Regions from separate parts of the Homo sapiens genome. Here all the other regions are linked to region 1. Evidence: promoter capture Hi-C in 16 types of primary human blood cells and fetal thymus (Javierre and others, 2016). All regions are on one chromosome and are shown on one strand. The core of a region is centred on a gene start or on the middle of the fragment in contact, and the rest is flanking DNA. Distances in the headings are between cores, read along the strand shown.

Region 1 (7,433 bases), core at 333-2,832:
ATACAAAATTAACTGGGCATGGTGGCAGGTCCCTGTAATACCTGCTACTAGGTAGGCTGAGGCAGCTAGAATCCAGGAGGTGGAGGTTGCAGTGAGCTGAGATCACACCACTGCACACCAGCCTGGGCAGTAAGAATGAAACTCTGTGTCAGGCCAGGCTCGGTGGCTCACGCCTGTAATCCCAGCACTTTGGGAGGCTGAGGCAGGGGGGCAGATCGTAGGGGCAGATCACGAGGTCAGGAGTTCGAGACCAGCCTGGCCAACATAGTGAAACCCTGTCTCTACTAAAAATAAAAAAAATTAGCCAGGTGTGGTGGCACGCGCCTGTAATCCCAGCTATTCGGGAGGCTGAGGCAGGAGAATCGCTTGAACCCAGGAGGCGGAGGTTGCAGTGAGCTGAGACCACGCCATTGCACTCCAGCCTGGGTGACAGAGTGAGTGAGACTCCATCTCAAAAAAAAAAAAAAAAGAAAATGTGTCAAAAAAAGAAAGAAAGAAAGGATTGTAGGAAAAACCACCACCACCAACCTTGTATTTAAGTTTACTACACATACAGAAAAGTGCACACCAAAATGTTCAGCTCAATTACATTTCACAAACTGAACACACTCATGCAGGTAGCTCTCATAACAAAAAACACAACGCAACCAGGACCTCAAAGCCCTCTTAGTGTCGGAACCCGATTTTAATAGATTACACGTACTTTGTAAATTTAGCCTAAGAGAGAGATCACGTATTTGAAGACCTCTCGGATTTTTCCTTCATCAGCCCTCCCCACTTCCCCACGCCTCGTCAACACAAAGAAGCATGCCCGCACCCACCACCGCCCCCTCCTCACCTCAGATTGGGGACCACCGTTGTGTTTTTTATTTTTTTGTAAATGAACGCATGGAAACAAACCAACACCACCTTCAGTGGAAAAGGTATGTTAGTACCAAACTGTCAAAAGGAACTAGTGATCCTTCATCTTAAAAATCTGTACTATGGCCGGGTGTGGTGGCTCACGCCTGTAATCCTAGCACTTTGGGAGGCCAAGGAGGGCGGATCACGAGGTGAGGAGTTCGAGACTGGCCTGGCCAACACAGTGAAACCCCGTCTCTACTAAAAATACAAAAAATCTGCCGGGCGTGGTGGCGGGCGCCTGTAATACCAGCTACTCGGGAGGCTGCGGCAGGATAATCACTTGAACCCGGGAGGTGGAGGTTGCTGTGAGCCGAGATCGCGCCATTGCACTCCAGCCAGGGCGACAGAGTGAAACTCCGTCTCAAAAAAAAAAAAAAGAAAAAAACCCCCAAAACTGTACTATATGGTGTTGCTCTCTACGAGTGCTACTTTAACACAAGTCAACTCTCAGGACTCCTCTCCGAATATTCAACATGGCCGCATGCGCGTCTATAAGCAACATGGCCGCTCTGCCAGTCACCAACATGGCAACCACAGCCTCACTGTGTCCGGAAGCATGAGAGAGCGGGTATGAGGACTATACCGGCCGCTCTGCCAACACCTAACGTGGCTCTTTATAGCTTCCAAGAAAGCGCGACACCGGAAATGACTTTTCTGTCTTGCTCAGCTCCAGGGGTCATTTTCCGGTTAGCCTTCGGGGTGTCCGCGTGAGAATTGGCTATATCCTGGAGCGAGTGCTGGGAGGTGCTAGTCCGCCGCGCCTTATTCGAGAGGTGTCAGGGCTGGGAGACTAGGATGTCGGACACGTGGAGCTCTATCCAGGCCCACAAGAAGCAGCTGGACTCTCTGCGGGAGAGGCTGCAGCGGAGGCGGAAGCAGGACTCGGGGCACTTGGGTGAGGCACTGGGCTGTTGGGGCCGAGGCTCAACCGGGGAGGACGGGCGGGATCCCTAGAGAAAAAGCTCCAGAGTCACTGCCCTTTACCAAACGGCCATTTCTATAAAGCCTCGTACATTGGTACTCCCTCTCCACCTTCAGCAGCAGACGTTCGCCCTTCTGCAAGTAGTTCGCGGTTCCTCCTCACGCTGGGCCTCGGTTCTTCCAGCTCACTTTTACCGGACGGACGCTTGAGCCCCACCCTCGTCCGCCTTGCCCACTCCTCTTCAGACTGCGAGGACGTCGCCTTTGTGAGGCTGCTCAGCCCCCTATCCCGCGAAGCAGCAAGAACCCCTTTTTGTTGCTGCTTTGGCGCTTTGTTCCCTCAGTTATAACGACTGTTTTGTAGTGGTCATTTCTTGGCAGCTGTGGGTACAGTAAGCGAGGAATGAACCTTTATATCCGCAGTGCCCAATTTAGTGGCCCGTACAGAGTGGCACTGGGTGTTTCTGAATGAGTACCCCTACCGGCATTGACTTAGCCATTTACATACCTAGCAGGAATCTGAAAACATTTGTGTTTGGTTTCCAAACTTTTTCTCTTCTCCTGTTGCCCCCGTGTCACGATCATAAAACTTGAAGGAAATTTAAAAGATTAAATTCACTGTTATCCACTCCCTACCCTCAGGACAAACTCTGAATTATTTAAGGCAAACTAGTAACAAAGCTCTGCAAAAATAGTGACTCAGTATCACCTTTGTGGTAGATTGTTCCAATATTTGTCAGTATCTTCAACTGCATCTCTAAATCTTGTCTAGATCATGTTAGGTTCATGTGCTCGTATTCTGGCCCCTAGAAATAGAAGATGCACTGGCAGGATCCTCCCACCTAATTAATTACCTTTCTTGAGTATCTACAGTGTTCATGGGTCTAATTAGACAAAAATAAGGAAGAAATTGCCCCTGTCCTCAAGAAGTTTAAAAAGCATAGGATTCAAGGGGAGACGCTTACAAAAAGTGAGGAATATGATAAGATATATGTACGAAACCAAATGAATGAATCTACAGTCTGTACAATGAAGAGAAGTAACAAGAGCTGGTGTAGGTAGTGAAGCCATCAAAACCATCATAGTGGAATTGGCACTTGAATTTGGCCTTTATGGCTATATAGGACCTAGATAATTAAAGAGGTAAGAGGGGAGGATAGTGGAGTAAGAAGTGCAAGTCATATGGTCAGGCAATAATTAGTAGTCAAGTCTCAGAGTAGTTCCTGAATTACCTAAGAGGGAGAATTTTTTTTCCCTTGCTCTAGAAACTTCATTGATTTATTTATAGATACAATTTTTTGTTTTGTTATGTTTTTTCCCCTATTCTTTGGTTTCCTGTTTTGAAACTTTTTAAAAATGTGCATAAATGATGCCAACGACTTTTTTTGCTTTTGTTTTTGAGATAGCGTCTCTCACCGTTGCCCAGGCTGGAGTGTAGCAGTCCTCCCGGCTCATCCTCCTGAGTAGCTAGGACTACAGGTGCATGCCACCATGCCTGGCTAATTTTTAACTTTTTAATAGAGATATGGTCTCATTATGTTGCCCAAATTTGTCTTGAACACCTGGCATCAAGCTGTCCTCTTGCCTAAGCCTCCCAAAGTGTTTGAATTACAGGTGAGAGCCACCATATCCAGCCTATTTAATTTTCCTGTGGAGTCTTTTCCCATTCAGCAATGGCAGTTGCAAAAGGGGACCTGAGGATCAGGTAGTTGTTTGTTTCAACAAAGTGATCTGCAAAATTATTTAGTTAGTTAGTTAGAGACAGGGTCTCCCTCTGTCACCCAGGCTGGAGTGCTGTGGCATGATCATGGCTCACTGCTGCCTTGACTTCCCGGGCTCCAGCGATCCTCCCACTTCAGCCTCTCAAGTAGCTGGGGCCACAGGCGTGTGCTACCATGCCCAGCTATTTTTTGTATTTTTGGTGGAGAAGGGGTTTCACCATGTTGCCCAGGCTGATCTCTAACTCCTGAGCTCAAGCAATCCACTCACGTTGGCCTCCCAAAGTGCTGGGATTACAGGCGTGAGCCACCATGCCTGGCCTACAAAATTAACTTTTAAAAAGCCGCTATATTGGTGTACTACATCATTGACTACTTTGTGTTCACCTTTCTGTCGTTTTTGTGACAGGCCATCCTCTATCTGTGGTGTTGTTTGTTGTTTCTTGGTTTTAATTGTTCCTCATCATACTTATTTATTTATTTTTGAGATGGAGTTTCGCTCTTGTTGCCCAGGCCAGAGTGCAATGGCGCGATCTTGGCTCACCGCAACCTCCGCCTCCCAGGTTCAAGTGATTCTCCTGCCTCAGCTTCCTGAGTAGCTGGGATTACAGGCATGTGCCACCACTCCTGGCTAATTTTGTATTTTTAGTAGAGACGGGGTTTCTCCATGTTGGTCAGGCTGGTCTCAAACTCCCAACCTCTGCTGATCTGCCCGCCTCAGTTTCCCAAAGTGCTGGGATTACAGGTGTGAGCCACTGTGCCCGGCATCATACTTCTTTATACTTTTCCATTTCTAAATTCATACTCTTTCAATGAATGATTCTAATTGCTCTTGGTCATTTTAAGTTTCATTTCATTTTTCTATGACATTAACTACATTTTGGTATTAACCAAACTTTCTGCTGTATGCAGACCTAACTACTAGAGCCTTGATACTTTGATCCAGGTCCTTGCTAAACATGTTTAATATTTTTGACAATAAGACTGTATTCTCCCTGCATGTACATATCCTTTTTTATTTTTATTTATTTTTTCTTTTTTAGATGTGAATATCTCTTGATTTGTATATTTAGCTAGTAATATAGCTAAGACCCTTTTCTGTGTGTGTGTGTGTGTAAGATAAGAATCTCGTTCTGTTACCCAGGCTGGAATTCAGTGGCGTGAACACAGCTTACTGCAGTCTCGACCTCAGGGCTCAAGTGATCCTCCTGCCTCAGCCTCCTCCTGAGTGGCTAGCACCACAGGTGTACCCTACCATGCCTGCCTACTTTTTAATTTTTATTTCTTTGTAGAAACAGGGCCTTGCCATGTTGCCCAGGCTGGTCTTGGACTCTTGGGCTCAAGCTATCCTCCCACCCTGGCCTCCCAAAGTGCTGGGATTACAGATGTAATCCCAGTCTAGTTAAGACTCTTATAAAAGTATTTTTGGGGTTGTAATTAAATGTATCTTGTCTTCTGACCGAGAGCTTGATCTGACCCATCATTTGGTACTGTGGTAATAGGTAAAGATGAAACATACAAATTAAACCAGAATGTCACTGTTCTTTCTGTGTTATTTTGATTATTTCAAAGAATGTATTTTGTTGAGCTTTAGGATTCTTAGGAAACCCTTGTGAAACACTGTATTGTAAGTTTATGAATCATGTTGTCATGTAAGATATAACTCAAGACTTGATAAAAGTTCAGATTATTCCATTCGTTTCTCACCGGAAATAAAAATTTGCCTACCACATCTGTTGCCCAGGCTGGAATGCAGTGGCGCGATCTCGGCTCACTGCAAGCTCCGACTGCCAGGTTCACGCCATTCTCCTGCCTCAGCCTCCCAAGTAGCTGGGACTAAAGGTGCCCACCACCATGCCTGGCTGATTTTTTTGTATCGTTTTTAGTAGAGACGGGGTTTCACAGTGTTAGCCAGGATGGTCTCGATCTCCTGACCTCGTGATCCGCCCATCTCGGCCTCTCAAATTGCTGGGATTACAGGTGTGAGCCACCGCGCCCGGCCACACCTTGTTTTTTACAGCATTACTGAAATCTGATAATTACCGACTACTGAACTGAGTGTCAAAAGACAAGGATATAAAATGAACTAAAATGTACCCACCACATCGTTAATAGTGGAAAATAATATGGGCAAAATATTGGGAGACCTTTGTTAGATTGGCATTTTTATTATTTATTTATTTATTTATTTATTTTTTGAGACAGAGTTTCGCTCTTGTTGCCCAGGCTGGAGTGCAGTGGTGCCATCTCACCTCACTGCAACCTCTGCCTCCTGGGTTCAAGCAATTCTCCTGCCTCAGCCTCCCGAGTAGTTGTGACTACAGGTGTCCACAGCCTTTGGAAGGCTAAGGCGGGTGGATCACCTGAGGTCAGGAGTTCAAGACCAGCCTGGCCAACATGGTGAAACTCTGTCTCTACTAAAAATATAAAAATTAGCCAGGTGTGGTGGCAGGTGCTTGTTGTATGTACTACAGGCACATACAACCTTGCCTGGCTAATTTTTAGTATTTTTTGGGCAAAACGCCCAACAGGGTTTTGCCATGTTGCTTAGGTTGGTCTTGGACTCCTGAGCTCAAGTGATCCTCCATCCTCAGCCTCCCAAAGTGCTGGGATTACAGGCATAAGCCTCCATGCCTGGCCTCCTTCCTTTTGAAGGATAAATAATATTCCACTGTATGTATATAACACATTTTGTTCATTCATCCATGGGTGGGCGTTTGGGTTACTTCTACCTTTTGGCTATTGTAAATAATGCTGCTATGAACCTGGGTGTATGAATATCTCTTTGAGACCCTGCTTTAATTCTTTTTTGTTTTGTTTTTTCTTGAGACGGAGTCTCGCTCTGTCACCCAGGCTGGAGTGCAGTAGCGCGATCTCGGCTCACTGCAAGCTCCACCTCCTGGGTTCACCCCATTCTCCTGCCTTAGCCTCCTGAGTAGCTGGGACTACAGGTGCCTGCCACCACGTCCGGCTAATTTTTTTGTATTTTTAGTAGAGACGGGGTTTCACCGTGTTAGCCAGGATGGTCTCGATCTCCTGACCTCGTGATCTGCCCGCCTCTGCCTCCCAAAGTGCTAGGATTACAGGTGTGAGCCAACCACGCCCGGCCGAGACCCCGCTTTAATGCTTTTGGGCATATACCCAAAAGTGGAATTGCTAGATCATATGGTAATTCTATTTTTGATTTTTGAGGAAGCGCCATCCTAATGGGTGTTATATATCTCATGTTGGTAAAGTATATTTTTTTAAAAAGAAAAATATTACTTAAAAAAATCTTTATTTTGGCCTTGGCAACAGAGCAAGACTCCGTCTCAAAAAAAAAAACTTTATTTTAATGGAAACAAACTATATTTGGCCAGGTTTAGCACATAGTAAATATGTGAAGTGCTCCAGTATATTTCTTGAGATTGAAGATGTGCATATAGATGTTGACACGTTTAAGGATTCAGCAAATTTGTAATCAGACCATATTAATTTCAGTGGTTCTCTTAATTAAAGGGTGAATCAAGTGTTATGTATTATTTTGCTAAACCGAACACATTATTTTCGTTAGATTAGAAGCAGAATGTCAGTGTAGTTGCAGCAGAGCGGAGGCATTGAGTAAATGTGTTGAATAAATAAATGAATAAATACCTTATGAAGGATTTGGAACCCAGGGATTCTTATCATTTTCTGGACAGTAACCGGTTTTAGGGATGATAAAACTTTTCCCCAAATGTCTGTATACATACAAAACTTTGCACGTGAAAAGTTTAGGGAATTTCACCTGAATAACAATTGTATTAACCAGCAGTTAAGTTTTATCCACCACATTAAACATAAGCTCCCTCCTCCTGATAACCTTAAAAAAGGTATTTTCAGCTCTAATATTCTGAATGTAATGTTGGGGAA
Region 2 (6,637 bases), core at 1,771-4,270, 310 kb after region 1:
TCACCCATCCTTTCACCACCTTCCCTAACCCCTGGAAATCACTAATCTTCACTGTAATTTTGTCATTTCAAGAAGTTATGAATGGCATAATATATGTGATACAAACATAGCATATGTTAACTTTTTGAGAATGGGTTTCCCCTCCACAGTATGATGCTCTTGAATTCCATCCAAGTTTTATTATATGTACCGATAGTTTTTCGTTTTTTAACAGATTGCTGTGGATGTACCAGTTTGTCTGACTGCTCACTCATCTATTGTAGGACATTGGGTTGTTTCTAGTTTTGGGCTATTAAAAATAAAGCTGCTATGAACATTTGTGTATAAGTTTTTGTGCATATAAGTTTCCATTTCTCTGGGATAATTGTCCTGGAGTGTGATGGTGGATAATATGGTAAGTATATGTTTAGTTTTATAAGAAACTGCCAAACTATTTCCCAGAGTTGCTATCTCACTTTACATTCCTACCAACAATAAGAGATGCAGTTCCTCTGCATTTTTGCCAGGATATAGGATTAGCACTAGTTTTTATTTTCACTGTTCTATCAGAGATGTATTGATACTGGTTTTCATTTGTTTGCATTTCCCTAATGGCTAATGATGTTTAACATGTTTTCATGTGCTTATTTGCCATCCATATGTCATCTTTGGTGAAATGTATCTGCATGCCTCTTGCCCATTTTATAATTGGATTGTTTTTAACCATTGTGTTTTGAGAATTCTTCATATATTCTAGATTAAAGTCCTTTGCCATGTGATTTGCAAATATTTTCTCCCAGTCTATAACTCATCTTTTCATCTTAACAGAGCCTTTTGCAGAGCAAAAGTTTTTAATTTTTATGAAGTCCAGTTTTCCTTCCTTCCTTCCTTTCTTTCTTCTTTCTTCAGACAAAATCTCACTCTTGTCCCCCAGGCTGGAGTGCAATGGCACGATCTCGGCTCACTGCAACCTCCGCCTCTTGGGTTCAAGCAATTCTCTTGCCTCAGCCTCCCAAGTAGCTGGGATTACAGGCACCTGCCACCATGCCCGGCTAATTTTTGTATTTTAAGTAGAGACTGGGTTTCACCATGTTGGCCAGGCTGGTCTTGAACTCCTGACCCCAGGTGATCCACCCACCTCAGCCTCCCAAAGTGCTGGGATTACAGGCGTGAGCCACCACAACTGGCCTATTTTATTTTATTTTTTTTGAGGCGGAGTCTCACTCCATCGCCCAGGCTGGAGTGCAGTGGCACAGTCTCGGCTCACTGCAAGCTCTGCCTCCTGGATTCACACCATTCTCCTGCCTCAGCCTCCCAAGTAGCTGGGACCACAGGTGCCCGCCACCACGCCCGGCTTTTTGTGTGTGTGTGTGTGTATTTTTAGTAGAGACGGGGTTTCACTGTGTTTGCCAGGATGCTCGCTCTCCTGACTTCGTGATCCACCCGCGTCGGCCTCCCAAAGTGTGGTGATTACAGGCGTGAGCCACCGTGCCTGGCCTCCATATGAATTTTAGAATAAGCTTGTCTATTTCTAAAAATATTGACTAGGTTGTAAACAGCCCCACAGGTTCATCTTGCCCGCTGCCTAGACGGAGCCGATTTATCAAGATGGGAATTGCAATAGAGAAAGAGTAATTCACACTGGAGTTTTATTACTCATCAGTCTCCCTGAGAATTTGGGGATTGAAGTTTTTAAGGATAATTTGGTGGGTAGGGAGAAAGTGAGTCTGAGTTCAGACAGGGAGTTCTGATTGGCCAGAGATGAAATAATAGGGAGTCAAAGCTATCCATCCTCTTGTGCTGAGTCAGTTCCTGGGTAGGGGCCACAAAACCAAATGAGCCAGTTTATTGATCTGGGTGGTATCAGTTGATTCACTGAGTACAGGATTTGCAAAATATTTCAAGTACTTATCTTAGGTTTTATAATAGTGTTGTTATCCACTGGATCAACTTGGGAAGGGTCAGAATCTTGTAGCCTCTAGCTGCGTGAATCCTAAACCATAATTTCTGATCTTTTGGCTAATTTGTTGGTCCTACAAAGGCAGTCTAGTCCTCAGGCAAGAAGGGGGTTTGTTTTGGGAAAGGGCTGTTATTATGTTTGTTTCAAACTATAGACTGTACATTAAGTTCCTCCCAAACTTAGTTTGGCCTACTGTCAGGAATGAACAAGAGCAGCTTAGAGGTTAGAAGCAAGATGGAGGTTAGGTCAGATCTCTTTCACTGTCTTAGTTATAATTTCGCAATGATGGTTTCATTATAATAGGAAATATGTTAGATCTGTATATTAATTTGGGAGAATTGAACATGTTTGCCATGCTTAGTCCTCCAATCCATGAACATGGTATGTCCTTCCATTTATTTTGATCTTTGATTTATTTTATCATTGGTTTGTAGTTTTGAGCATACAGATCCTGTACAGGTTTTGTGAGATTTACACCTAAGTATTTAAGTATTTTTTTAATGATTGCAAATGATATTGTGTTTTAATTTCATCTTCTCCATGTTTATTACTGGTCTATAGAAATATAATTCATTGAGACCAGCCTGAGCAACATTGTGAAACTCCGTCTCTACAAAGAATACAAAAATTAGCCAGATGTGGTGGCACATGCCTGCAGTTCCATCTACTTGGGAGGCTGAGGTGAAAGTCTCCTTTGAGTTTGGGTTGCAGAAGTTGTAGTGAGCTGAGATCATACAACTGCACTTCAGCCTGAGCAACAAAGCAAGAACCTGTCTCAAAAAAAAAAAGAAAAGAAATATAATTCATTTTTATATGTTGATCTTGTATCCCGCAACCTTACTGAACCCTTTTACTGGTTTTACTGTTTCTTCTACCACTCTTTTTACTGGAGTACAGTGGCATGATCTCGGCTCACTGCAATCTTCGATTCCTGGGCTCAAGCGATTCACCTGCCTCAGCCTCCCAAGTAGCTGGGATTACAGGCACCCGCCACCATGCCCAGCAAATTTTTGTATTTTTAGTAGAGATGGGGTTTCACCATGTTGGCCAGGCTGGTCTCGAACTCCTGACCTCAGGTGATCCACCCACCTCAGCCTCCCAAAGTGCTGGGATTACAGGCATGAGCCACCGTGCCCAGCCTTTTTTTTTTTTTTTTTTCTTTTCTCTTTCTTTTTAAGAGATGGGGTCTCCCTACATTGCCCAGGTTGGTCTTGAACTCCTGACCTCAGGTCATCTGCCCACCTCGGCCTCCCAAAGTGCTAGGATTAGAGGCGTGAGCCACCATGTCCGGCACTGTTTGTTTTATAATAGCATCCTAATGAGTGTGAAGTGGTATCTCAATGTGGCTTTGATTTGCATTTACCTAATTATTAATGATGTTGAGCATCTTTTCATGTGCTTATTGACCATTTGTATATCTTCTTTGGTGCAATGTTTGTTAATTCAAGTTCTTTGCCCATTTCAAAATCAGGTTGTTTGTTTTAATGTTGTTGAATTGTAGCAGTTATTTATATAGTCTGGATAGCAATTTTTTATGAGATATATGACTTGCAAATATTTTTTCCCATTTTGTGGATTGCATTTTCACTCTGTGGGTAGTATTTTACAGTGTTTTTGAGGGTATCTCTTTTTATAGTTGTTTTGAGTGGTTGCTCTAGGTGTTGCCTTATACATACAAAATGGATTACAGTATACTACTATTGTTTTACCATGTCAAGTGAAATGTAGAAAATTTACCTTATTTATATACCTTACCCTCCCCATTCATAATACAATTGTATTAAATATTTCCTCTACCTATTAGAGAACCTCATTAAATAATTTTATGATTTTTGCTTCTACTGTTAGCAGTGGCAGAGATCTGAGTTACCCCAAGGTACCAGCAGCCTATCTGTATGGGTCCATGGCAAGTTCCAGAGCAGGAATGGAAGTTTATTTAAAAAGGCCTTAGAATAGGAAAGAAAGGAAGGTGCGCTTGGAATAAAAAAAAAAAGCAGGCACATGAAGTTTAATAGAGAAGGTCAAATGCCGTTTAACCATGATCCTAGGACTTTCGTAAGTTTGCCTCTTTCCCAGGATTCTTCCCATAGGGTGGGCTTTCCGCATGCCCAGTGCTTTCCTTACCCTTTGGAACCGAGCCTGTTCAGTGTGTTTAGGGAGTTATATGCATGCCCAATCTGAGGCTTTCTTCCTTTTTCTGGTGGTGCGTCCCCAGAAAATCATACTTCACCATTTTTGTCTCTTAACATCCATGACCAGGAAGTTGCTTCTCCCTGGAACCTGCATTCAATTAACAGGTGTGGACCATCAGGAAATGGCCTCTCCCTGGCCCTGCCACATTATCATTTTTAGAGAGGCAATGTGGTAACTGCCGAACCATCACCAGACATTTCTAATGGGTGCAGGGAGAGTCAGTCCTCTCCTGTGCCACTCATGCCTGACTACCTGTAATACTGCCGTCAAATGTAATCTTTTTAAAAACCAAGAAGATAATTTTTTTGTTGTTGTTAACCATGTTTTTACCCTTTCCATTGTTCTTTTCTCATTACTGCTATTTAAAGATTCCTTCTTTTATCATTTTCCATCTGTTTCGAAAGCTTCCTTCGGCCATTTTAAAGGATAGATTGGCTGGCAAAAGTTCTTAATTTTCCTTTATTTGAAAATGTCTTGGCCAGATGCAGTGGCTCACACTTGTAATCCCAGCACTTAGAGAAGCCGAGGTGAGCAGATCGCTTGAGCCCAGGAGTTCAAGACCAGCCTGGGCAACATGGTGAGACCCTGTACAAAATTAGCTGGATATGATGGCACATGCCTGTAGTACCAGGTACTCATGAGGCTGAAGTGGGAGGATCAATTAAGCCTGGGAGGACAAAGCTGCAGTGAGCTCTGATTGCACCACTTCACTCCAGCCTGGACAACAGATTGAGACCCTGCAAAAAAAAAAAAAAAAAAGAAAAGAACATGAAAGAGAAAGAAAGAAGAAAGAGAAAGAAGAGAAGAAGGAAGGAAGGAGAAAGAGAAAAAGAAAAGAAGGAAGGAAGGAAAAAGAAAGGAAAGAAGAAAACCAGAAAGAAAGGAAGGAAGGAGAAAGAAAAAGGAAAAAAAAGAAAGAAAAGAAAGAGAGAAAGAGAAAATGTGTGTAACTGAATTTCCATCCTGAAGGATATTTTATGCACATAAAATGTTGGGTTGACTATTCTCTCAGCACTTGAAAAGTGTGCCACTTCCTTCTTGCCTCTATGATTTCTCATGACATTTGAATTGTTGTTCCCCTCTGCTTCGAGTTGGTATTTGAATTTAAAAAATAATAAAATTAAATAAAAATAAAAATAAATGGATTTTGTCCCCTTATAGGTAATGCACCTTTGGCTGATTTCAAGATGTTTTCTTTGTCCTTAGTTTTCAAAAGTGTGATTATGATGTCCTTGTTCTGGATTTCTTTGGGTTCATCTGTCAAGAGTTTCCTCAGCTTCTTGAATCTACGTTTACGTCTGTTGCCAAATTTGGGGAACATCCAGCCATTATTTTTTTGAAATTTGTTCATCCCCACTCTCTTTCTCTTTTCTAAGACTCTGATCACACAAATGCTAGATCTCTTTTGTTATTTTCCAACGGTACCTAAGGCTCAGTTCTTTTTTTTTTTTTCTTCCTGTTGTCCATGTAGGGTAATTTCTACTGTTCTGTCTTTATATTTACAGGTCCTTTCTTCTGTTATCTCCATTCTATTTTTTTTTTTTTTTTTTGAGACCAAGTCTCACTCTGTTCCCCAGGCTGGAGTGCAGTGGCATCATCTTGGCTCACTGCAACCTCCGCCTCCCAGGTTCAAGTGATTCTCCTGCCTCAGCCTCCAGAGTAGCTGGGATTACAGGTGTGCGCCACCACACCCAGCTAATTTTTTGTATTTTTAATAGACATAGTATTTCACCATGTTGGCTAGGCTGGTTTCAAACTCCTGAGCTCAGGCGATCTGCCTGCCTCGGCTTCCCAAAGTGCTGGGATTACAGGCATGAGCCACCGCTCCCAGCCGCAGCTCTCCATTCTATTTTTAGCCATCCAATTTGTTTTCAATTTCAGTTATTGTGTTTTCAAATTTTAAAATTTCCATTTGGTTCTTATGTCTTCTATTTCTTTGCGTAGATTTTCTAATCTTTCATTTGTTGTATGCATATTTATAATTGCTCATTGAAGCATTTTATTATGTCTACATTAAAATCCTTGTCAGATAATTATAAGATTTGTGTCATCTTGGTGTTGGCATCTGTTGCTGTTACGAGATCCTTGGGGTGTCAATTTTCTGGCCTGAAACCTCTGGCCAGTGGTGCCTTTGCCTGAGTTTTGCTCAGGCCTGCTGGGCTCATTCTGCCCACTTGGATTTGCAGGCTGCACTCAGCTCACACTACCAGCATGGATCCCACATCTGCCAAGGGTGAGTCAGGCATGGAGTGGTGAGGGGTGTGTGAGCAAGCATGGGGTCCAGCCACTGCTGCAGTCAGACATGCTAGCTGCTGCAGTGGGGCCAGCAGCTCCGGGTGCTGGCAAGGGCCCTGGCTCTCTGCGAGGCTGTGGCTGGACCAGGCGCACTGCAAGCAGCTTCCCTGGCTAGCACCAGGAAATGCAGTGGTGTCTGGAAGCCTGGAGACGCCAGGCACTGCAGGACCCCAAAGAGGGAGTCACAGTCCTGGCTTGGGGAGCTCCTAG
Region 3 (6,770 bases), core at 3,919-6,418, 270 kb after region 1:
CTACAGGTACCCGCCAACACGCCCGGCTAATTTTTTTGTTTTTGTATTTTTAGTAGAGACGGAGTTTCACCATGTTAGCCAGCATGGTCTTGATCTCTTAACCTCGTGATCCACCAGCCTCGGCCTTCCAAAGTGCTGGGATTATAGGCATGAGCCACCGCGCCCAGCCTTTGAGGCATCATTTATTTTCATAGATGGCTAGGATGGGGAAGAGTTTGAATGAAATGTTTTGTCAAAGAAAAATATAGAGCCGTGTGCTGCATAGATGTTTTGGTGAATGACAGACCACATATATTATGGCCCCTTAAGATTATAATGGAGCAGGCCAGGTGTGGTGGTTCACGCCTGTAATCCCAGCAATTTGGGAGGCCGAGGCAAGCAGATCCCCTCAGGTCAGGAATTTGAGAGCAGCCTGGCCAACATGGTCAAACCCCGTAGTCAGGCGTGGTGGTGCACATCTGTGTTCCCAGCTACTCAGGAGGCTGAGGTGGCAAAATCGCTTGAACCTGGGAGGTGGAGGTTGTAGTGAACTGAGACTGCGCCACTGCACTCCAGCCTTAGTGACAGAGGGAGACTCCTCAAAAAAAACTAAAAAGTAAAAGAGATTATAATGGAGCTGAGAAATTTCTGTTGCCTAGTGACATCTTGCTGATCCTGAACACCTATAGGCTTAGGCTAATGTTTATGTCTTAGTTTTTTCAAAGTAAAAATGTTAGTAAACTAAATAAGGTTAGTATATTAAAGAAAAGAAAAATTTGTTTTACAAACTTACTGTAGCCTTAAGTGTACCATGTTTATAAAGTCCACAGTAGTGTATGGTAATGTCTTAGGGCTTCAAACCCACCACTCACTCAGTACAGTCACCAAAAGCAACGTTCAGTCCTAAAAGCTCCATTCATGGTAAGTGCTTTATATAGGTATACCGTTTTTGAAATATATATATATTTTTTTTGGCGACAGTCTCGCTTTGTTGCCAGGCTGGAGTGCAGTGGTGCGATCTCAGCCCACTGCAACCTCCACCCCCCGGGTTCAAGCGATTTCTCCTGCCTCCGCCTCGCGAGTAGCTAGGATTACAGGCATGCACCACCACGCTTGGCTAATTTTTGTATTTTTAGTAGAGACGCGGTTTCTCCATGTTGGTCAGGCTGGTCTTGAACTCCTGACCTCAAGTGATCCACCCACCTCGGCCTCCAAAAGTACTGGGATTACAGGCGTGAGCCACTGCTCCCAGCCCATTTTTGAAATCTTTTATACTGTATTTTTACTGTACCTTTTCTTTTTTGAAGTACACAAATAATATTGTGTTAGAACTTAGACTCAGCCCTTGTTTTCTCTTTTGCTTTTTTTTTTTTTTTTTTTTTTGAGATGGAGTCTCGCTCTGTCTCCCAGGCTGGAGTGCAGTGGTGTGATCTTGGCTCAGTGCTACGTCTGCCTCCGGGATTGAAGCGATTCTCCTGCCTCAGCCTCCTGAGTAGCTGGGACTACAGGCGCATGCCACCACGCCTGGCTAATTTTTGTTATTTTAGTAGAGACTGGGTTTCACCATATTGGTCTGGTTGGTCTCAAACTCCGTGTTGGGATTACAGGCGTGAACCACCTTTCCCGCCCTGTGTTAGAACTTCTTATAGTGTTCAGTACTGTGCATGCTATGCAGGTTTGTAGTCTGGGAGCAATAGGCTATACGATACAGGCTAGGTGTGTGGTAGGCTACACTATCTAGCTTGGTATTGGGTAACTACACTCTTACGACATTAACACAGTGACAAAATTGCATAACGATACAATTCTCATGCATTTCCCTGTCATTAAGCAATGTGTGATTAATTGGTTTACTGATGAATGTAATTCCAAGAATAGAGCTAAGGGAAGAATTAAAGAGTCAACTATGATTTAGAATCGTATATCATTAGATTGTGAGTTCTCTGACTTTGGCAATTCAAAAGCTCCACCATTGGTAAGTGAGAAAGGATACCTTAAATGGAATTTTTAGCATCTTTTGAGGGACCTCGGGGGAAATTAAATGACATGAATTAGTTTTTTACATCGAGATGTTTTAAGACCTTAATTTTTTATTTGTTGCATTACATCACTCATACATTGAAAGGAAACAATTTTGATTATAAAAGTGCTTTATAGAGAGAACTTGCGGGCAGGCGTGGGGGCTCACGCCTATAATCCCTGCACTTTTGGAACGTGGAGGTCGGCGGATCACCTGAGGTCAGGAGTTGGAGACCAGCTATGGTCAACATGGTGAAACCCCATCTCTACTAAAAGTACAAAAAATTATCCGGATGTGGTGGCGGGCGCCTGTAGTCCCAGCTACTCGGAAGGCAGAGGTTGCAGTGATCGAAGATCGCAACACTGCAATCCAGCCTGGGCAACAAGAGCTAAGCTTCGTCTTAAAAAAAAAAAAAACTTGGAGGAAATATGCAGATAAAAATAGTATTTACTCATTTACTTATGTCATCAGCACTCAGAGGTAACCACCATCAACATTTTTATGTTTTGTTCTCTGTCTTATGTAGCTACAGGTATATATATATGTATATTTTACTAATATGTAATTATTATAGTGTTAGAACCTCTACGTGGTAGATGTTTTCCAGTCAGTAAGTATTCTACCATGTTTTTGTTTAATGGCTGTCAAGTATCTTTTGTCACAGATTTATATAAAAGATTCAGTTCCAAGCAAACATGGAAGTACTTGAAATTGAATATCCTCAGTTGATTAATGAATACAGATATAGGGACCTACCGTCCCATTGCTTGATACCTTTTATTGAGAATTTTCATATGAGCCTACAAAACGTGTACTGGTTTAGTTAGTTAAAACAATGGAAATGCCAGTTTCTTTTCCTTCACTTCATTGCATGATCATTGTTACATAAGCAGATTTGACAGAAAAAAAGATGTAATCTTTTCTTTGGAAATTTGGTGAAGTGTGCAATCTGGTGTATATCATTTTTGAATCTGCTATATATAGCATCTTAAGAAAACTTTTGAACACAATATATACATACATAGAATAAACCATTCCTGTGTAAGCCCCACTCTTCGGATAGCAACTGCCATGTTTGTCCTCTACACTTTTCTCCTGAATGATTTCAAAGTTTGTTGACATGATACTTCAGCAAACATGATACGCACTGAAGTTAGGAGCTTCCATGTGGCTGCATCTCCTAAGAATAAAGGAAATACATGCCACCAAAATATTATCAAAAGAATAATGAACATCAATTCAGTAATTAAACAATTGATAGTAAAATTATCTAGATAAAAATGTCTCTTTTGCCCAGTCTAGTGTTCAGTCAGAATTCACACACTGCCCACCCCCCCACCTCTCCTTTTTGAGACAGTGAGGTGGCTTGATCTCCGCTCATTGCAGCCTCCACTTCTAGGGTTCAAGCAATTCTCCTGCCTCAGCCTCCCAAGTAGCTGGGACTACAGGTATGTGCCACCACACCCAGCTTATCTTTGTATTGTTAGTAGAGATGGGGTTTCACCACATTGGCCATGCCGGCACTGCTTTTTTAATCTAGAAAAAGGCCCCTAGTTTTTATTTTTTGAGGTGTCCAAACCAGTTGTATTGTGATTGCCCACAAACTTGAAATTGTCTGATTGTTTCCCCCATATATAGATTCTAGAAAGATAGCTTGGTGAGAATAATGCGTAGGTGATAATGCGTGTTTAAGTGTGTCACATCAGGAGGCATGCAATGTTAGGTTGTCCTACAACTTTCTAACTATGATCCCTTAGTTTAGGTTGAGACCTCCAGGTCTTCATTGTAAAGATACATTTTCCCCCTATGTAATTATAGAGTATCTGTTTGCAAATCCTGTACTCCACTCACCAAGTTTTACCTGGCGCTTTTAGCATACATCGACAGTACTCTCATATGTTAAATTGGTGTTAAGTCCTCACCAATGTAAATAAATTTTAAATAATGTGTCTTAACATCTTTTTGAGACGGAGTCTTGCACTGACGACCAGACAGGAGTGCAGTGGCACGATCTAGGCTCACTGCAACCTCCGCGTCTTGGGTTCAAGCGATTCTTCTAGCTCAGTCTCCAGAGTAGCTGGAATTATAGGCGCTTGACATCACGCCCAGCTAATTTTTAGTATTTTTTGTAGAGATGGGGTTTCACTATGTTGACCAGTTTGGTCTCCACCTCTTGACCTCGTGATCTTCCTGCCTTGGCCTCCCAAAGTGCTGGGATTACAGGCGTGAGCCACCTTGCCTGGCCCCACACCTTATTATTATTATATATGATTATATTTATGATCCATTTGTTTGGATTTCCTGCCATTTTTAAATTTTGTTACTCTTCCTTTTGAGAGTTGTTTTATTTCATTTGGGTTTTGACCTTTGCGTGTGCAGTTTTACACGATTTGTATTTATATTAGGATTTAGAGTGAGGTTGGTTCCAATTTTTGAAAAAGATGGCTACCTAGTAGTACCATGTATTGAATTATTCATTTTCCCACCATGATGTACAAGGTCTTAGGTATTCTTAGTTCTAATACTTAAACATAGCAGTTAACATAATGTGTTCTAAAAGTAGCCAACTTTGTTTCTTCATAGGCTGAAAATGTCTTAGTAATATCCCCAGGTATTACTGTTTTCTCAGAGATTACTCTCACAGTATTTACCTTGAGATACTGTTTTTGATTAAATGAGCTAATGATTCTTGGCAGTTCAGCAAATTAAAATGCACATATTTTTCCAGGCATTGTTGGCCTCTGAAGAGGCCAGAGGGAAGTAGTTGAAAGCAATAAGATCCATAGGAAGCAGGGTACAAAAATGGTGACCAGATAGAGAGTAATGTGGGATAGGGTAGCCGGACCTAAATAGGCAAAATAAGACTTGAAGTGTGTTCAACAACTTAGATCAAATGAAGATCATCCAAGTATGCAGAGGAATTTATAGTATCCAAAGAGTATTCAGAAACTTAAGAAATTGTGAATGACTGAAAACTTTGGAATACAGAAAATTTAGTAAACCTTTTAGAAAATTGACAACTCATTGCTGCCATCTAGTGTCACTTTTGTCTTTGAAATTCTGCAAAGAAGGGAAATTTTACATATATAGCATATTTAGTATATAGAATTGGCATTTAATTTGAATTGAATGCAGGGGCTACTTTAGGTTTTTTTGTTGTTATGGTTGTGGTTTTTTTTTTTTTTTTTTTGAGACATAGTCTTGCTCTGTTCCCAGGCTGGAGTGCAGGGGTGCAATCTCGGCTTACTACAACCTCCGCCTCCTGGGTTCAGGCAGTTCTTTGCCTCAGCCCCCCGAGTAGCTGGGATTACAGACGCCTGCCACCACCAATTTTTGTCTTTAGTAGAGACAGGGTTTCACCACGTTGGCCAGGCTGGTTTTGAACTCGTGACCTCATGATCTACCCACCTCGGCCTCCCAGAGTGCTGGGATTACAGGCGTGAGCCTTCGCACCTGGCCTAGTTGAGGTTTTAAGATACAGTAATAAAGGAAATTGTAAGGCAGGGTTTTGAATTTCCAAATCTGAGGTAATATATATTTTCCTTTGTCTCTAGTGTGAGATAATGTCTGGTAAGTGAAAGTGACAGCATGTTTAATTTTTTTCTCCTGGACCATTGGATAATGTGTTTTAAGTATAATGTGATTAACCCATGTGGAGAGGTGGCCAGGGCTTGCTGAAATAAATGCCCAGTAGAAACATCTTGTACTTTGTTTAACTTGTATACTTTTGCACTAAATAAGCCAAGATATACTGAAAACAGTTGGGTTGAACGGCACCTATCTCCTGTGACCTGAACTCTATCAAAGCTGGCATACAGTGCCCAGATAAAAAAGGAAGCTGAAGTCTTGACTCCATGTTCAAATTCATTTTGGCTCAGCTCTCAGCAAATTCCAGGGCTCTCACAACCTGTTTGTGGACCACTTGAACTTTATTTATGTAAAAAATCTTCAGATAATGCAAACTGCCGTACCTTTTCCAAGTAGAATTGAATTACTTGAGATTTAAAGTTAATGTAATGGTAATGAAGTATTTTTATAAATATATTTTCAAAATTTTAGCTAGATTGACAATCCAAGATTGGTTTCCCTCCATTAAAAGGGTGAAGAGGCATGATAGCACCTCACACTTACAATGAACAGTTGGAAATAAAATTTACAGTTTGGCTATATCCCAACTAGATAGAGTTTTTACTTATTTTTTGCTTTTAAGCTGTGGCTGGGATGGTGAGAGTGCGAGTAGAGGCAAATTTCTATATTCAGGAAATTTCTTGTCCTTCCCACTACTATTAAAATCTTGTATCGCTTTTATTGCTTCAGGATAGAGCATATGATAAAACAGACAAGCATATCAGACAAAAACACAGATTTTTGGGCATTAGAAATAACTTAGTATTCCTGGTTTTGACTTGTTTTCTAGGTAAAACAGGTCTTTTGTGATCCTTTGATTAAAAACAGGAATAAGAACCTGTAATGAAATTATAGTATATAATATACAAACGCATTTGTCCATGTGTGTAATAGAAATTTGAGTGCTAACCACTATTTTTCCGCTTTTTTTGTCCTTTTTCTCTCTTGAGACCCAGTCTCACACGGTTGCCAAGGCTGGAGTGCAGTGGCATGATCTTGGCTCGCTGCAACCTCCACCTCACGGGTTCAAGGGATTTTCCTGTGTCATCCTCCCAAGTAGCTGGGATTACAGGCATCCACCACCACACCCAGCTAGTTTTTGTATTTTTAGTAGAGACCGGGTTACACCATGTTGCCCAGGCTG
Region 4 (6,466 bases), core at 1,915-4,414, 300 kb after region 1:
CCAACCCATATCAGTGATCTTTGGACAAGGCTAACCCAACAATGTGGTAATAATCTATTTCCATTTTTTCCCCCTTAATTACCAGAATTATATTTTCTTTAAAAATTATGTTAGAGTTTCCCCATGTGGTGAATACCTTGTATAGCTCCAGTGGTGAGCAAATGAGCATACTGGTTTACCATTTAGTCGTTTTATATTTTAAATGAGTGGTGCTTGCAGTTGATAGTATCCGGGTAAACTGATGCTAGACTAAGACAGCATGTTTGTGGTGAAGTACTTGCAAATAACATTAGAAATCATTGATTTCAGTTTAGAAATAAAACACAAGCTACAAAAATTTTGCTGGTTGATTTATTTTTAAGCACAAAATCAAGAATTCCAACTATGTTACGAACATTTTGAGGCAAGGACTACTTCCTCAGATGTGAATGAGAGTCCATTTCTGCCTGAGCAGCATTCTTTGTAACTAAAAGCCCCACCGGCTGAAATATTTTGAAATATTTTTCTTCAGAAAAGTAGAGAATTTGACTCCTAATTGTGTTCATGGGACTGTTAACATAGATTCAAAACAGAACTATTACTTGCTTCATTTTGGCTATGGTCAGATGAAATAGTAGGTTTTAAAAGGAAATTCCAGTGATAGTACGGAACTAGCTAGCTAGCTAGTTTAACGGATTTATTGTTTTCGGTCACAATTTGACATATTGTTATTTAAATTTTAATGTAAACCTGTGTTAAACTTTTTTATATCAGTTTTTTTATCTACATAGTTAAGTTTGAGGCAGATGTCTGTCATCAGTTGGTAGTTCATTTAACTAGTATTTACTGGAGATAGAATGGAAAAAACTGCTCCTTTGGTTCTCTTAATTTTTGTTTTGTGACGGAGTCTTACTCTGTGATCCATGCCGGAGTGCAGTGGTGGGATCTTGACTCATTATGAACTCCGCCTGTTAGGTTCAAGCGATTGTTGTCCCTCAGCCCCCGGAGTACCTGAGATTATAGGAATGTGCCACCACACCTGGATAATTTTTTCTATTTTTAGTAGACACTGGGTTTCACCATGTTGGTCAGGCCCGTCTCCATGTCCTGGCCTCAAATGAGCCGCTCGCCTTAGCCTCCCAAAGTGCTGGGATTACAGGTGTGAGCCACCCTGTCCGGCAAAACAGATTATTTCAATCTGTTCACATTTTTAAGATGAGAATCAGCTGTGGTCCATTAAATGGTCCATGTACCAAATGATAGCTTTATTATTAATAGATTAACGTCTACTCTGGTGTAGTGTTGACATGTATTACTAGGTTTTTTGAGACCCAGGAAATGTCACTGTTTGCAGCTAATGTCTTATGGTCAGAATTTCCATTTAAGAAGCTTCCCTTTGAAAACCTCTTCTTAGTACATGTCTTGTAATGCTTTTACTTTGGAATTGGGGTAGACATTCTTTGTCTTTTTTTTTTTTTTTTTTTTTGGTGGTGGAGGAGACAAAAGTTTTTACTCTGTCGCCCAGGCTGGAGTGCAATGGCTGTCTGCAACCCCCACTTCCTTCCTGGGTTCAAGCAACTCTCGTGCCTCAGCCTCCTGCGTAGCTGGGATTACAGGTGTGCCACTGCATCCAGCTGGTGTGTTTTGTTGTTTTTTTTTTCTTTTTCTTTTCCTTTTCTTTCTTTCTTCCTTTCTTTTTTTTTTTTTTAAGACGGAGTCTTGCTCTGTCACTGAGGCTGGAGTACAGTGGAATGATCTCAGCTCACTGCAACCTCTGCCTTCCAGATTCAAGCAATTCTTCTGCCTCAGCCCTCCTGAGTAGCTGGAATTACAGGCGTGTGCCACCATGCCCGGCTAATTTTTGTATTTTTAGTATACACGGGGTTTCCCCATGTTGGTCAGGCTGGTCTCAACTCGTAACCTCATGATCCACCTGCCTCCGCCTCCCAAAATGTTGGGATTACAGGCATGAGCCTCCACACCTGGCTGGTGTATTTTGTCTTAATCTGTTCAGGTGATTAATGTCTCTAGAGTGTTTTAATTTCTTAATCTGACTAGATTTTATACCAACACCATCAAGTTTGATTATGGGTGCAGTTACAATTCTCCTAGGGTTTAGTCCTTGTTCCCCTGGTAAAAGATTTTAAACAGCCTAGCCTTAATCAGTAAGTAATCAGCTATTGTTGCCTCATCTATTGTATAGCTTTCTCATAGTGAGAATTTCCGCTTAATTTTTAGCTGGTGCTTGAAGTAGTCATACTGAGCTTCTTAATATATATCCCTTTTAACTTAAAGGTTGTCACACTATGTATGTTTTTTTTCTATTTTCACACTTACCGTCCTCAACATTTTTCGAGGCAAGGACTACTTCCTCAGATGTGAATGAGAGTCCATTTCTGCCTGAGCAGCATTCTGTGTAACTAAAAGCCTTAACTGGCTGAAATATTTTGAAATATTTTTCTTCAGAAAAGTAGAGAATTTGACTCCTAATTGTGTTCATGAGACTGTTACATAGATTCAAAACAAAACTGTATTACTTGCTTTATTTTGGCTGTGGTCAGACGAAATAGTAGGTTTTAAAAAGAAATTCCAGTGATAGTACAGAACTAGCTAGCTAGCTCATTGGTTTAGATACGGGTGCCGGTGAAGGTTTGTGGCTTAGGAGGTAGATTAGATATTTATTTCCATTGGACTGAGGCTTAAGCTCAGTTTAATGCTCATGGATATGGATAACTTATTTTGATTCACCTCCAGAAATTGTCGTTAAGCAATTTGTGTTTGTGCAAGTGTTACCATCTCTCACAAAGGATATGAGTTTCTGAACACTGATATTTTATAGTTTCTGTATCATTATACTTTGCAAGATTTTGGTCAAAAAGACCAAAAGCTTTATGTCAAAATGGGAAAGTAGTGATAATAAAAAGTTACTCAGTATCTTTTTCTTTGCATTAATTCCCATGAATGGATTAAACTAAGAGATTAACCATACTTAGGGGAAATGCAAACTTTTTTCTGTTTTCTTTTTTTTTGAGACAGTGTTGCTCTGTTCCGCATGAGTGCAGTGGTGCAGTCATGGTTCTCTCACCTCCTGGGCTCAACCTGTCTTTCCATCTCAGCTTTCCTTGCTCTTTTAATTTAGGAAAATGTTCCTGTCCATAGCCACTCCTGGGACAAGATTAAACATTGCTTTGTTGAAATAGTGTGGAAACACTTTTAAGTTAACAGAGGAGAGAATTAGCAATGAGATCTTGTAAATGTTTTCACTACAGGAAGATTGGAGATATTACAACTCAGAATAACTTGCCACTATTGTATATATATAAGAGGGAGAATCATGACAAAGGTGATTAATAATATTTTTAAAGTTCTTGACTATCACATTTGTTTTTTAAGAAATATTTGGAGTTAGAACAGTTGGTAGGTGTATTTTTATAGAGTACCTGGGCCTTTGCATTAAGTTAGTTGCATTTTTAAAAAGCTTGCAGAATTGAAGACCTTTTCATACGTTGCCATAGGTTCTTATATGGAAATGACAATGTGGAATGTAGAAAGTTTAGAACTGATGTCCATGTAAGAAGTATTTTGTTCTGTTTTGAATTTTCTCTTTACAAATGTAAGTGTACCAAGCCACTGCTTTGGTGTATCTTTATCAATCACTGGGATACTAAGTTTAAGACATTTGAAATTAAGATTTCTAATAGAAACAGCAATTAGTTGAGCAACCAGTGTTTATTGAGTGCTAAGTGTGTACTGGCCAGTGAATTTAGACATAGGTGAGTAGTGAACAAGATAGACAGTGGTCTCTGCCCTGTTGGAATTAAGCGTAAATTTAGTTAGAAATGATACTACCTGTTTTTATATGAGGTATTTTTTATCAGTAGTATTTATACCCAGCCAACACATTTTGCTATGATTCCCTCAGTTACATGAAATTGCCCTGATTTTATAGATCTGAAATTTTATATGGTTCAACCTTATATCACTAGTTGTAATAATTCGTGTGCTTCTGTGGGTGAAAAGAATCAGAGATTTCGCTAATGCCATATACCACTGTTTATATACCCTTTTAATTGGAACATTTTAAAGAGTATTTGACCGTATGTGAATTGTTTATTGTAATGTATATTTGAAAATAATAAGATCCAAAGGCTATTCATTATAATAAATGCCCTGTTAATACTGACACTAGTACAGAGGAATCATTTATATCCAGTGCCAAAGGCCAGCCAACCATATAATTTGATATATGTTTTATTTTCCTGAGGAAAAGTTGCTACAGTATTACAACTATTTTATGTGCCTAGGTAAAGAAATAATGGGATAAGATTTCTAAACCCCACTGTGGAGGTTTTTGCTGGCCTTCTTAATGAAATTTAATAAAAGGAAACGACTAGAGACAATATTCACTTACTATTTATCATAAGGTCTGTTGAATTGTGCTGAGTTAATGTTAGGTTTGAATGAATTCCATTTTCCTCTTATCCAATAGGATGTACAGTTACCCAGCACGTGTACCTCCTCCTCCTCCTATTGCTCGGGCTGTAGTGCCCTCGAAACGTCAGCGTGTATCAGGAAACACTTCACGAAGGGGCAAAAGTGGCTTCAATTCTAAGAGTGGACAGCGGGGATCTTCCAAGTCTGGAAAGTGTATGTATTATTTCATTTTGTGATTTTGGTATCTCTTGTGTTTTGAGATAGGGAAGCTAATGCAGTTACAATATTTTTGTGCCACATGACTTTGTGTATTCAAAATAATGGAAGAGGCTGGGTGTGTGGTGGCTCATGCCTGTAATCCCAGCACTTTGGGAGGCCCAGCGGGTGGATCAGCTGAGGTCAGGAGTTCAAGACCAGCCTGTCCAACATGGAGGAACCCCATCTCTACCGAAAATACAAAAAATTTGCCGGGGATGGTGGTGCGTGCATGTAATCCCAGCTAATTGGGAGGCTGAGGCAGGAGAATCGCTTTTACCCAGGAGGCGGAGGTTGCAGTGAGCCGAGATCATGCCATTGCACTCCAGCCTGGGTGACGAGCAAAACTCCATCTCAAGAAAAAAAAAAAAATCCAAAATAACAGAGGAGACAAGATTGTGATTGAGTGGCCAATTCTAGACTGCAACAGCTAGGTAATTTAAAAAATGTCATTTGACTTTATGTAGTTGAGGTGTGCGTTAAGTTCCTGAGATTTTTTTGTGTTATTTAAAAACTAAAATTCAGACAGTGTTCAGTATGTTGATTTTTTTTAACTTTTCTATATTGAACTCCTCCTGTAACTGGAAATATGGAAGGCAGTAAAACATTACAGAAGGTCTGATGCAGTGGTGCGTGCCTGTAGCCCCAGATGCTTAGGGGGAGGCTAAGACCCTGGGGATCTAGGCTGTAGTGGGAGGATTTCATGAGGCCAGGAGTTTAAGTTCACTGTGATCATACGTGTGAATAGTCACTGTCCTCAGGCCTGGTCAACATAGCGACAGCCCTGATCTAAAAGACATTAAAAACAATAAAAACCATTACAGAACGTGCTTTATAATAGAACCAAGGGCCTTTATTACCGAGAAATCTGTACTGGCTCTGTTTCTCCCTGGGTATCTCCTGTGAGCTCCTGATGTAGTCTGGTGGCAGTGTATTTGCTAACTCATATCTTCGGTACATTTGATTTTAATCTAGTATTTTGTTTATATTAAAGTGAAAGGAGATGACCTTCAGGCCATTAAGAAGGAGCTGACCCAGATAAAACAAAAAGTGGATTCTCTCCTGGAAAACCTGGAAAAAATTGAAAAGGAACAGAGCAAACAAGCAGGTAAATGGGTTTTCTGCTTGCCCTTGGTATACAGTTGGGTTAGTTACATAAGGCACTTGAAAGTACATGTTGGAATAGTGGAATATAAAGCAATGTAATATGAAACTTGGGGAGTGTGAATTGGGAAGGGTATTTGTGTGGGAGGATTTAGATTTGTGCTGCAGTTCTGTGATCCTTAGTGGGGATTGTCTACGTCCTGTGGACATTACTGCCCCTAGACAGACTTGTCCTTCTCATCCGCAGTAGAGATGAAGAATGATAAGTCAGAAGAGGAGCAGAGCAGCAGCTCCGTGAAGAAAGATGAGACTAATGTGAAGATGGAGTCTGAGGGGGGTGCAGATGACTCTGCTGAGGAGGGGGACCTACTGGATGATGATGATAATGAAGATCGGGGGGATGACCAGGTGAAAACCACGGGAAAGGAAAGAAAAAGGTGGTGGAGGGGGGCTCAGGGACACATGGAGTGCCTCTAACTCCATCCTGTTTGTGTCTGTTTCTCACAGCTGGAGTTGATCAAGGATGATGAAAAAGAGGCTGAGGAAGGAGAGGATGACAGAGACAGCGCCAATGGCGAGGATGACTCTTAAGCACATAGTGGGGTTTAGAAATCTTATCCCATTATTTCTTTACCTAGGCGCTTGTCTAAGATCAAATTTTTCACCAGATCCTCTCCCCTAGTATCTTCAGCAC

The links. The method cuts DNA at HindIII sites, captures the fragments that hold promoters and counts their contacts. A CHiCAGO score of 5 or more calls a contact.
Region 2: a fragment that was not itself captured here is called in contact with the fragment with the promoter of METTL3 in region 1 in 2 of 17 cell types (naive B cells and neutrophils); the score reaches 5.3 in naive B cells.
Region 3: a contact is called between a fragment that was not itself captured here and the fragment with the promoter of METTL3 in region 1, in 4 of 17 cell types (neutrophils, monocytes, total B cells and 1 more). The highest score is 8.0, in neutrophils.
Region 4: a contact is called between a fragment that was not itself captured here and the fragment with the promoter of METTL3 in region 1, in 3 of 17 cell types (naive B cells, total B cells and monocytes). The highest score is 7.0, in naive B cells.

Annotation. Positions count from the first base shown.
Region 1 is chr14:21,505,489-21,512,921 of GRCh38, reverse strand. It overlaps METTL3 (methyltransferase 3, N6-adenosine-methyltransferase complex catalytic subunit), which reads left to right and starts at 1,582. Exons shown (of 11, transcript NM_019852.5): 1 at 1,582-1,798. The coding sequence starts at 1,699. RefSeq lists an enhancer at 1,300-1,539. The HindIII fragment of the contact is 13,792 bases long and covers 1-7,433 here.
Region 2 is chr14:21,193,146-21,199,782 of GRCh38, reverse strand. No RefSeq gene overlaps it. Among named protein-coding and RNA genes, the nearest start is that of LINC00641, 10 kb to the left of the region's middle. RefSeq lists an enhancer at 6,454-6,637. The HindIII fragment of the contact is 3,037 bases long and covers 1,502-4,538 here.
Region 3 is chr14:21,239,677-21,246,446 of GRCh38, reverse strand. The region is part of intron 2 of HNRNPC (heterogeneous nuclear ribonucleoprotein C); the gene reads left to right. Among named protein-coding and RNA genes, the nearest start is that of HNRNPC, 26 kb to the left of the region's middle. The HindIII fragment of the contact is 5,548 bases long and covers 2,395-6,770 here.
Region 4 is chr14:21,211,120-21,217,585 of GRCh38, reverse strand. HNRNPC (heterogeneous nuclear ribonucleoprotein C) reads left to right here. Exons shown (of 9, transcript NM_004500.4): 6 at 4,469-4,626; 7 at 5,663-5,776; 8 at 6,020-6,180; 9 at 6,280-6,466. The coding sequence ends at 6,363. Among named protein-coding and RNA genes, the nearest start is that of LINC00641, 7.5 kb to the right of the region's middle. The HindIII fragment of the contact is 591 bases long and covers 2,869-3,459 here.